Linked DNA regions of Homo sapiens: regions 1 and 3 are each linked to region 2. Evidence: promoter capture Hi-C in 16 types of primary human blood cells and fetal thymus (Javierre and others, 2016). All regions are on one chromosome and are shown on one strand. Each heading gives the region's core, a stretch centred on a gene start or on the middle of the fragment in contact. The rest is flanking DNA. Distances are from core to core; before and after follow the strand shown. Region 1 has its middle 13 kb from the start of NLRP1. Region 2 holds the start of PITPNM3 (PITPNM family member 3). Region 3 overlaps NLRP1 (NLR family pyrin domain containing 1).

Evidence for each region. Contacts are between HindIII fragments. The CHiCAGO score rates a contact against its expected background, and 5 or more counts as called.
Region 1: a fragment that was not itself captured here is called in contact with the fragment with the promoter of PITPNM3 in region 2 in 1 of 17 cell types (M1 macrophages); the score reaches 5.2 in M1 macrophages.
Region 3: a contact is called between a fragment that was not itself captured here and the fragment with the promoter of PITPNM3 in region 2, in 2 of 17 cell types (M2 macrophages and M1 macrophages). The highest score is 6.5, in M2 macrophages.

Annotation. Positions count from the first base shown.
Region 1 is chr17:5,596,081-5,598,780 of GRCh38, reverse strand. No RefSeq gene overlaps it. Among named protein-coding and RNA genes, the nearest start is that of NLRP1, 13 kb to the right of the region's middle. The HindIII fragment of the contact is 724 bases long and covers 991-1,714 here.
Region 2 is chr17:6,555,273-6,557,972 of GRCh38, reverse strand. PITPNM3 (PITPNM family member 3) reads left to right here and starts at 1,418. Exons shown (of 20, transcript NM_031220.4): 1 at 1,418-1,588. The coding sequence starts at 1,567. RefSeq lists an enhancer at 2,507-2,700. The HindIII fragment of the contact is 11,474 bases long and covers 1-2,700 here.
Region 3 is chr17:5,561,603-5,564,302 of GRCh38, reverse strand. The region is part of intron 3 of NLRP1 (NLR family pyrin domain containing 1); the gene reads left to right. Among named protein-coding and RNA genes, the nearest start is that of NLRP1, 22 kb to the left of the region's middle. RefSeq lists an enhancer at 2,203-2,700. The HindIII fragment of the contact is 5,112 bases long and covers 1-2,700 here.

The DNA of each region.
Region 1 (2,700 bases), core at 103-2,602, 960 kb after region 2:
ACTGGGTACTGACCTCAGAGTGAAAGCACTCCCCCTTCTGAAAGCCCTTGTGAAGCCTGCGTGATGCTGTGTAATCTCCCAGGCAGCTTCGTTTATCACTATTCTACGTTCCTACAGATTCTTAGTGTAATGACACCCTTTCTGAGGCAGCAGCGATGGTGCCAAATGGCACTTGCATTTCCAGGAAAGCAGCCAAACTCATTAAGTTAATAAAGGAATTTAGCTGTATAGAGATGCCTCCTTCACATACATTCCCGAAAAACCCTCACTCTCACAACTCAGCAGCAGCAGCCGTTAAATCTCTGCCTCCACCTGCAAAGCACTGGCCCCACTGAGTCAAACCGCATTGGCCCTGCGGTCAGCTGCAGAAGACAGGGCACATCTCAGAGCCTGGCCAGCTGACTTCTCTGCCACTTCTGCTCCCAAAGCAGCTCCCCAAGGTCCCTCTCTCCGTGCCAGAGTGAGCCCCATTAGGGCCCACAGATCCTGGTCAGGGATGGGACAGGCTCCCTCTGCCTGGTTGTTATAGCTGGACTGTCTGGAGTCACAGCATAGCCTGGGCTGGTAGGAAGCAGTTGTCACATGAACCATCACAAGTGCCACCTGTGTGGTCTTCTTGCCTCGGTCTTACCCTCTCTGATCACACTTCCCCGTTGCAGCCAGGGGAATCTTTCTAAACTATAAATCTCCCTGTATCACTCCTCCAGCATATTGTTTCAACAGCTCCACATGACTCGCAGGAGGCCAGTCCAAACTCCTAGTAGCATCAGGCCTCCCAGGGTACCTCCACCACCACTTGCCTCTCCAGCCTCTGCTCACATCATCACCCATCCAGCTCCCAAAACACACCCAGCTCTCCCTCACTCCAGGCCTTTGGGTACCACTCTCCAGATGCTGTGATGCCTTCACCAGCCCCTCTGCTTCCTCTTCCTGCATAACTACAGTTTTTCCTTCAAGACTCCATGCAGAAATCTCTTCCTCCTGGAAGCTTTACCTGGCATCCCAAGTTTCCTTAACTCAGGTGCTCCTCTTTTAAACCCCACAGCAACTGGTGTGCCCACACACCTGAGCCCATACCACACTGAATTGTGGTCATCTCCTTTATTCTCAGTCTCCACAGTTGTGGAGCACACAAAGAGCAGGCACTGTCTTTTTCACCTCTGCATTCCCACGTACCTGGCACACACAGGCACTACATAAATGAAGCCACAGGCTCCTGTCTTGTGGAATGGGCCTCAGTGTCCTGCATGTTGAATTCCTGTCTCCTGCCATCCTATCTCCTCAATGACCTTTATAGAAATGTCCACCCTTGGCCGGGCACGGTGGCTCACACCTGTAATCCTAGCACTTTGGGAGGTCGAGGCAGGCAGATCACAAGGTCAGGAGTTTGAGACCAGCCTGGCCAACATGGTGAAACCCCGTCTCTACTAAAAATACAAAAATTAGCTGGGCATGGTGGCACACACCTGTAATCCCAGCTACTCGGGAGGCTGAGGCAGGAGAATCACTTGAACCTGGGAGGCGGAGGTTGCAGTGAGCCAAGGTCACGCCACTGCACTCCAGCCTGGGTGACAAAGTGAGACTCCACCTCAAAAAAAAAGACAAAAAAGGAAAAGAAATGTCCACCCTTTTTCTAGTGCCCAGATCTCTCTTCCTTGCCCTCTCTTAGCTTTTTCTCTTCTCCTCTATCATACATACTTGTCAAACTGAAGCTTTAAGTATTTTCATTTCTCCACTCTTGGGAAAGGTTTCACCTGGTCCCATCTGCTGCCTTGGAGTGACCCATCCATCTCTCCAGCCCTGGTTCCCTCACCTCAGTTCCTACACCTTTAACTCCACCAAGGGTTGGGGAGTCCCTTCACCCTCCTGCCATCCTGCAAAGGGATGTGAGAGCCACCAGGGGGTCAGCCTCTGGTCCACTCAGCCCCGGTTCTGGCTCCAGCCAGGTCCCCTAAGACACATTATCACTGCTCCATAGTGGGGGGTGGCTGCATGACAGACTCATTTCCCTTAATCATCCTACACTGATCAATTGTTGAGTTCAGCCAAGCCTCTCAGGAAGGGTTTATATTTCCTATTGGCACCAGCTCTTGGCATAATGAATTGCTGGAGTTTACTAGCATCTGAATGTGTTTCAAACACTCTTCTTCCAAGTGTCAAGGCACAGAAGGTAATTAGCATCCTGGAAGTAGTGGCCACATGTGGGTTGTGGTCTTGCACAAAGCCTCCTACCCCACTCCGCCAGGATTCAGAATCCTCCTCCATAAGAACCAACAGAAGCATTGATTCAGCCAAGGATCCAGATCACCGAAATCTCTGAAAGGGAATCATAAGGCAAATAGCTGCAGGAGGCAACACTGGTGCTTATAAGGGCCACCAATGGCTGGCTTGCAGGAACACTGTGGCCAAGACAAGAGACCCCTATGGGTAGAACCCAGGGCAGAGGCTGGTCTAGGAACCCCAGGACTGAACCTTCAGCTGACTGATGAAAGAAGACTATGATGATCAGGATCTAGTCGGGAAAACCGAAACCACTCTAGTATTTCCATCACAGGGAATTTGATAGGAAGGACGGGCCACAGTGAGGATAAAAAAGATGAAGAAGCCACGCAGAGATGGTAAAGCCACCCAAATATGAGCAACAGCAGGGGCTAGTTTCCCCTCCAACAGCTGCAGGACACGGGGGTGACAATATTACCA
Region 2 (2,700 bases), core at 169-2,668:
GGTGAGCTCTGGCAAACGTGGATGGTTGTTCTCCCTGGGTGAATCCATACTAGGGAGTTTGGGTAGAAGGCCTTGGGAAGCCCTGGTTTTGTTGGGTGAGGTGTCGGAAGGCAGAGCAGAACTCATGGATGGGACATGCGGGTTGTAGATTTCAGCTCAAACGAGTAAGAACATTCTTAAGGCCAGCACTAGCCAAAAAAAAAAAAAAAAAATTAATAAAAGGAAGAACTCTCACTTAAGATACTGAGCTTCCTGTCCTTGGAGGTAACCAACCAGGAGCTGGAGGACTGCTTAGCAGGAATCTTGTGAATGGAGTCAAAGCCCCAGAGAAGGCACTGGACTGAGAGCCCCCATCTAACCCCATGTGTGCCCTGTTTCCATAGAGGAGCTTGCAGGACCCTGGAGCCTGGACCATGGATGGAATTCTCCAGTTGACCTTTTCCCTGTTAAGTGGAGTGGGACAGGGTGGGTTGGGTGCCTGGCTCTACAGATGGTAACTGGGCTTCAGCCTTACCAATTCCTGGGGGAGGCAGGGCACCCTCTCAGTGGAGGGTTGTTACCTCTCAGGCACCGCCAAATACAATTGGCCATCTCCTGCTCTCTTTTGGGGCTGGACTGTGGATCCCTGCTGCCCCTAAACAGAAGTCATAACCCATATCTCCCCGGACCACAAGGCCTGTCCACTAGAATCTCTGCATCCCGATTTAGGAAGTGGAAGGCGGGTACTGCTCACCACCAGGCCGCTGGGGTCCACAAAGCCTGCTCCAGCCTAGAACCCCAGGTGGATGTGCAAGTGTTTTACTTATCCCTTGAGGGTTAAAATCACGGGAATCCTTTCTCTTTTGAGGTTAGGTCAGACGCCATAAATGATCCAGAACCCCTGGAGCGGGGGCTGATGGAGGGGGTCCCTCTCTTGTCTCTGATCCCAGAGCGACTTTCCTCTTGACTTCGTGGGGGCCTCCCTTGGATCCCTGTCCTCCTTCCTCTCTCCGCTCCCTCTGTCCGTCTCTCCCGGAGCCGGAGCCGGGCTCTGGGTCTCTGGTCTCCTCTGAATTTCTCTCTCTCTCCCTCCACCTCGGCGTTCTGGCCCTAGGAGCGTCTCTCTCCAGCGCTGTCTAATAGTCTGTGCGCCCCTCTCCCAGTCCAGGGCCCCGTCTCTGGCCCGCAGTGTCTCGGGCTGTCTCCGCGTCTCTGAGCCCCTGGGCTGCCGCCCCTCGCGCGCTGCGGTGGCCGCGCGGGCCGGAGCGGAGCGGGCTGGAGCGCGGCGGCCACGGCCCGGGGCGGGGGTGCGGGCCCGCGGGGGCGGCGTTGGGCGCCTTCCTTCGTCAGTCCCTCCCCGGCGGCGCGGGGGGTGGGGTGGGGGGGGGGCGCGGCCGCCGCTCGGCGCCTTTAAGGGAGCGGGAGGGAGCGGCGAGGCGGCGGCGGCTGCGGTGGCGGCAGCCGAGGCGAGCGGGGCGGGGGCGCGGGCGCGGCGCTCGGAGTCCGTTCGGGGCCGGAGGCGGTCGGGGCCGGGCCCGGGAAGCGCGAGGAGCGCGCGTAGCGCCGCCGGAGCCCGCCGCCCGGGACATGGCCAAGGCGGGCCGTGCAGGTGAGGGCGGGCGCGGGGAGGGCAGGGCCGGGGCCCGGGGGAGGGACTCGCGCGTCTAGAGGAGGGGCCGCCGGCCCAGGTGAACCCCTCGCGCAGGTGGGCGGAGGTCCCGGGAGGGCGTAGGGGGCGGTAGCGGGGCTGGACCTCCCGCGCGTGGAGAGGGGGCTCCGCGCGCCCCCCGTCCTTCCTGCGCCCCCGGTCACCTCGGGGGACACCGCGTCCCCTTCTCCACGGCCCCGCCGGAAAGGGCCAGGTCTGCGGCGCCCCGGGCCAGTCCCGCCGTTGGGAGCCCTCTGCACCCCGCGGAGGCCCCGGGCAGACCCGGGCTTCGCCACCGAAGGGGATGTCCCGCGGCCGCCGCTTCGTCCCACACCCCAACGCAAACCGGGACGCGCCCCCTGCTCCTGCAGCTCTCTCCATCCAGGACGCCACAACCCCCCGCCCCAGCCCCCGTCACCAGCTCAGTCCAGAGACCCAGATTCCTTCTCGGGAAGGAGGGGAGCCCCGTGCCGCGCCGGCTGCTGGCCGCCCCGCCCCCTCCCCCATCGACCCTGGGACGCAAAGCCTCAGCTGCGGAGGCCTCTTCTGGGGTCCCGTGGGCTCTGCCCTCCCCCAGGCTCAGACGGTGTAGCCTGTGGTTTGAGGGAGCGGGCATTAGTCATTCGTTCATTCATCCAGCCCGACGTTCATTCACTAGCATCTGCTCTGTGCCAGACCCTGAGCTGGGCACCGGGGCTCAGGCGGACTCAGCCCCCCTGCTGCGCCCATGCTGGGGAGACCCAGGCCCGTGACTCATCGGGCACATTCTGGGCCCGATGGTGCCTTGGGAGGCGGGTGGAGGACAGCTGTGCCCACAGGGCCGGCCATACAGTAGGCGGCAGCAAGCCTGGTCTCGGCAGTGCCTCTTGTGAGGCTGGCGTGTGAGAATCTACCATGAACTCACACCCAACCCGTGACGTTGGCTGGTGCCATGCCGTCCCCCAGGACCGGGCGCGACAGTGAAGGAATGGGTGTGAATACCATCGGGCTGTGTGTCAATCCACCCCCAAGCCCGAAAGCTGCCCGGGACCCTGGGCTGCGGACCCGTCTCCCTGTGCAGGCACTGAGCCTGT
Region 3 (2,700 bases), core at 136-2,635, 990 kb after region 2:
AAAGAATGAATAAGACCCACTGTTTGATAGCACAATAGGGTGACTATAGTCAATAATAAATTAATTGTATACTTTTTAATAACAAAGAATATAGTTGGATTGTTTGTAACTCAAAGGTTAAATGTTTGAGGAGCTGCATACCCCATTCTCCATGATGTGCTTATTTTACAGTGCTTACTTGTATCAAACCATCTCATGGATCCCCATAAATACATACACCTACTACATATCCACAAAATTTTTAAAAAATAATTTTAAAATTTTAAAAAAGAAAAGAAATTATTGGCTGGAATTTCTTTTCTTTAAGGATGCTGAATATAGGCCCCCAATCTCTTCTGCCTTGCAGGGCTTCTGCTGAAAAGTTCACTGTTAGCCTGATGAGGTTCCCTTTTTAGGTGACCTGCCCCTTCTGTGTCTAGCTGCCTTTATTGTTTTTTCTTTCATGTTGGCCTTGGAGAATCTGAGGACTTGGGGAATCTGAGAACTATGTGTTTTAGGGATGATTGTCTTGTATAGTATCTCACAAGGATTCTTTGCATTTCCTGAATTTAAATGTTGGCTTCTCTAGGGAGGTTGGGGAAACTTTTGTGGACAATATCTTCAAATACGTTTTCCAAGTTGCTGGCTTTCTCATGCTCTTTCAGGGATGCCAGCGAGTCATAGATTTGGTCTCTTTCCAAAATCCCATATTCCTCAGAGGTGTTGTTCATTTGTTTTCATTCTTTTTTATTTTTGTCTGACTGAGTTAATTTGGAGAACCAGTCTTCAGGCTCTGAGATTCTTTCCTCAGCTTGGTCTATCCTGTTGTTAATACTTGCTATTGTATTATGAAATTCTTGTAGTGAGATTTCCAGCTCTATCAGATCAGTTTGGTTCTTTCCTAAAATGACCATTTCGTCTTTCAGCTCCTGTATCATTTTATCATATTCCTTAGATTGCTTGGACTGGATTTTGACTTTCTCCTGAATCTCAATGATCTTCATTCCTACTCATATTCTGAATTCTATGTCTGTCATTTCAGCCATTTCAGCCTGTTAAAATACCATTGCTGAGGCACTAGTGCACACATCTGGAGATAGGAAGACACTGTGGCTTTTTGAGTTACCAGAGCTCTTGAGCTGGTTCTTTCTCGTGTGTGTGGGCTGATGTTCCTTTAATCTTTGAAGTTGTCTTCCTTTGGATGGGGTTTTTTTTGTTTTGTTTTTATCTTGTTTGAAGCCCTTGGGGGTTTGATTGTCGTATAAGGTGGGTTCAGTCAACTGGCTTCGATTCTGGAAGATTTCAGGTGGCCAAGGCTCAGCTCAGCACTCCTGAGCTGCCTGCTCTAACTCTAGAAGGCTGGTACTGGGTCCCCAGCCTTTTCCTCTGGCCTCCTGGGGTTCAGAACCTGCTGCATTAGAGGGGCCAAGGTGTTCCCAGTCCGCTGGCCTCAACAGTCCAGTGGGGGTGCAGGCCAAAGTGCTTCCTTGTGGCAGTGCCAGCAGGATCTGTGCTCACTCACACATGGCACCAGCCACAGTGGCATGGCAGGGTGCGTGTGTGTTGGCTGGGGCAGGGCACTGGTGGGAGCCTTTGCCTTAGTTTTCATGGCACTGAATACTGCAAAACATTTTGGTGTTGTATTTTGGGGCCGCCATCCAGTAGGCAGTGCTTAAGAGTGATCACCAGGAGATACACTCTTACTCTGCTGCGTGGTTCTTCATGTTTCAGTACAGTTGGCAGTAGTGTTCTGTGTGTGTTGGGGACAGGGGGGTGACCTTCTCACTTAGTCCACTCCTGGGCCTTAGACAAGACCCTTCTGATTACTGGCTCCACACCTGCATTTCTTTTGTTGGGTGTTCTGGTAAACGGGGTTCCTTCAGGCAGGGGCCGTGGTTGGCAGACAGGCCGTATCCTTGCTGGGTCCGCCCTGCAGAGAGAGGCATACCTCCTCCACCTCACTCCTCCACCAGCCTACAAACTCGGACATCTCACCTCTGTCAGTGATAAGAGAATGAGGGCTCTTCCCTGCTTGGGCATTGTCCAAACCAGCAAGTCCTGCTCAGCTAGGATCTGCAGAAGTGGGTGGGGTCACGTAATCAGCTGTCTGGGTGCTTCCCAGAGGAACAGGGGATGGCACCCACCCACAGAGTAGCGGGACTGCTGGGCTGGAAGCTCTAGCAGGTGTGGCCCATCTGGCTACCACAGGCAGAGGTGGTTGGAGTCACCCACCCTGCCATCTGGGTGTTTCCCTGGGCAGTAACAGGAGGCTGCACCCCTCAGCCGGATTCAGACAGAATTAGGACCACTGCGCTGGAAGCTCTAGCAGACATGGCCTGCATGGCTAGGAGAGGCGGTGGTGGGTGGAGTCACCCACCCTGCCTTCAGAGTGTTTCTCGGGGAACCGGGAGTTTGCCTCTGCTGGCTGAGTTCAGACAGAAGCAGACTGCTAGCAGACATTGCCCGCCTGGCTACCAGTGGCAGGGATGGGCAGAGTCACCCCCTCTGCTGTCCAAGTGGGGAACCTGAACAAAATAATATCCCAAAGAACAGTTTCATGGCAAGTATAAAAACCACATGGGGCCGGGCGCGGTGGCTCACGCCTGTAATCCCAGCACTTTGGGAGGCCGAGGCGGGTGGATCATGAGGTCAGGAGATCGAGACCATCCTGGCTAACAAGGTGAAACCCCGTCTCTACTAAAAATACAAAAAATTAGCCGG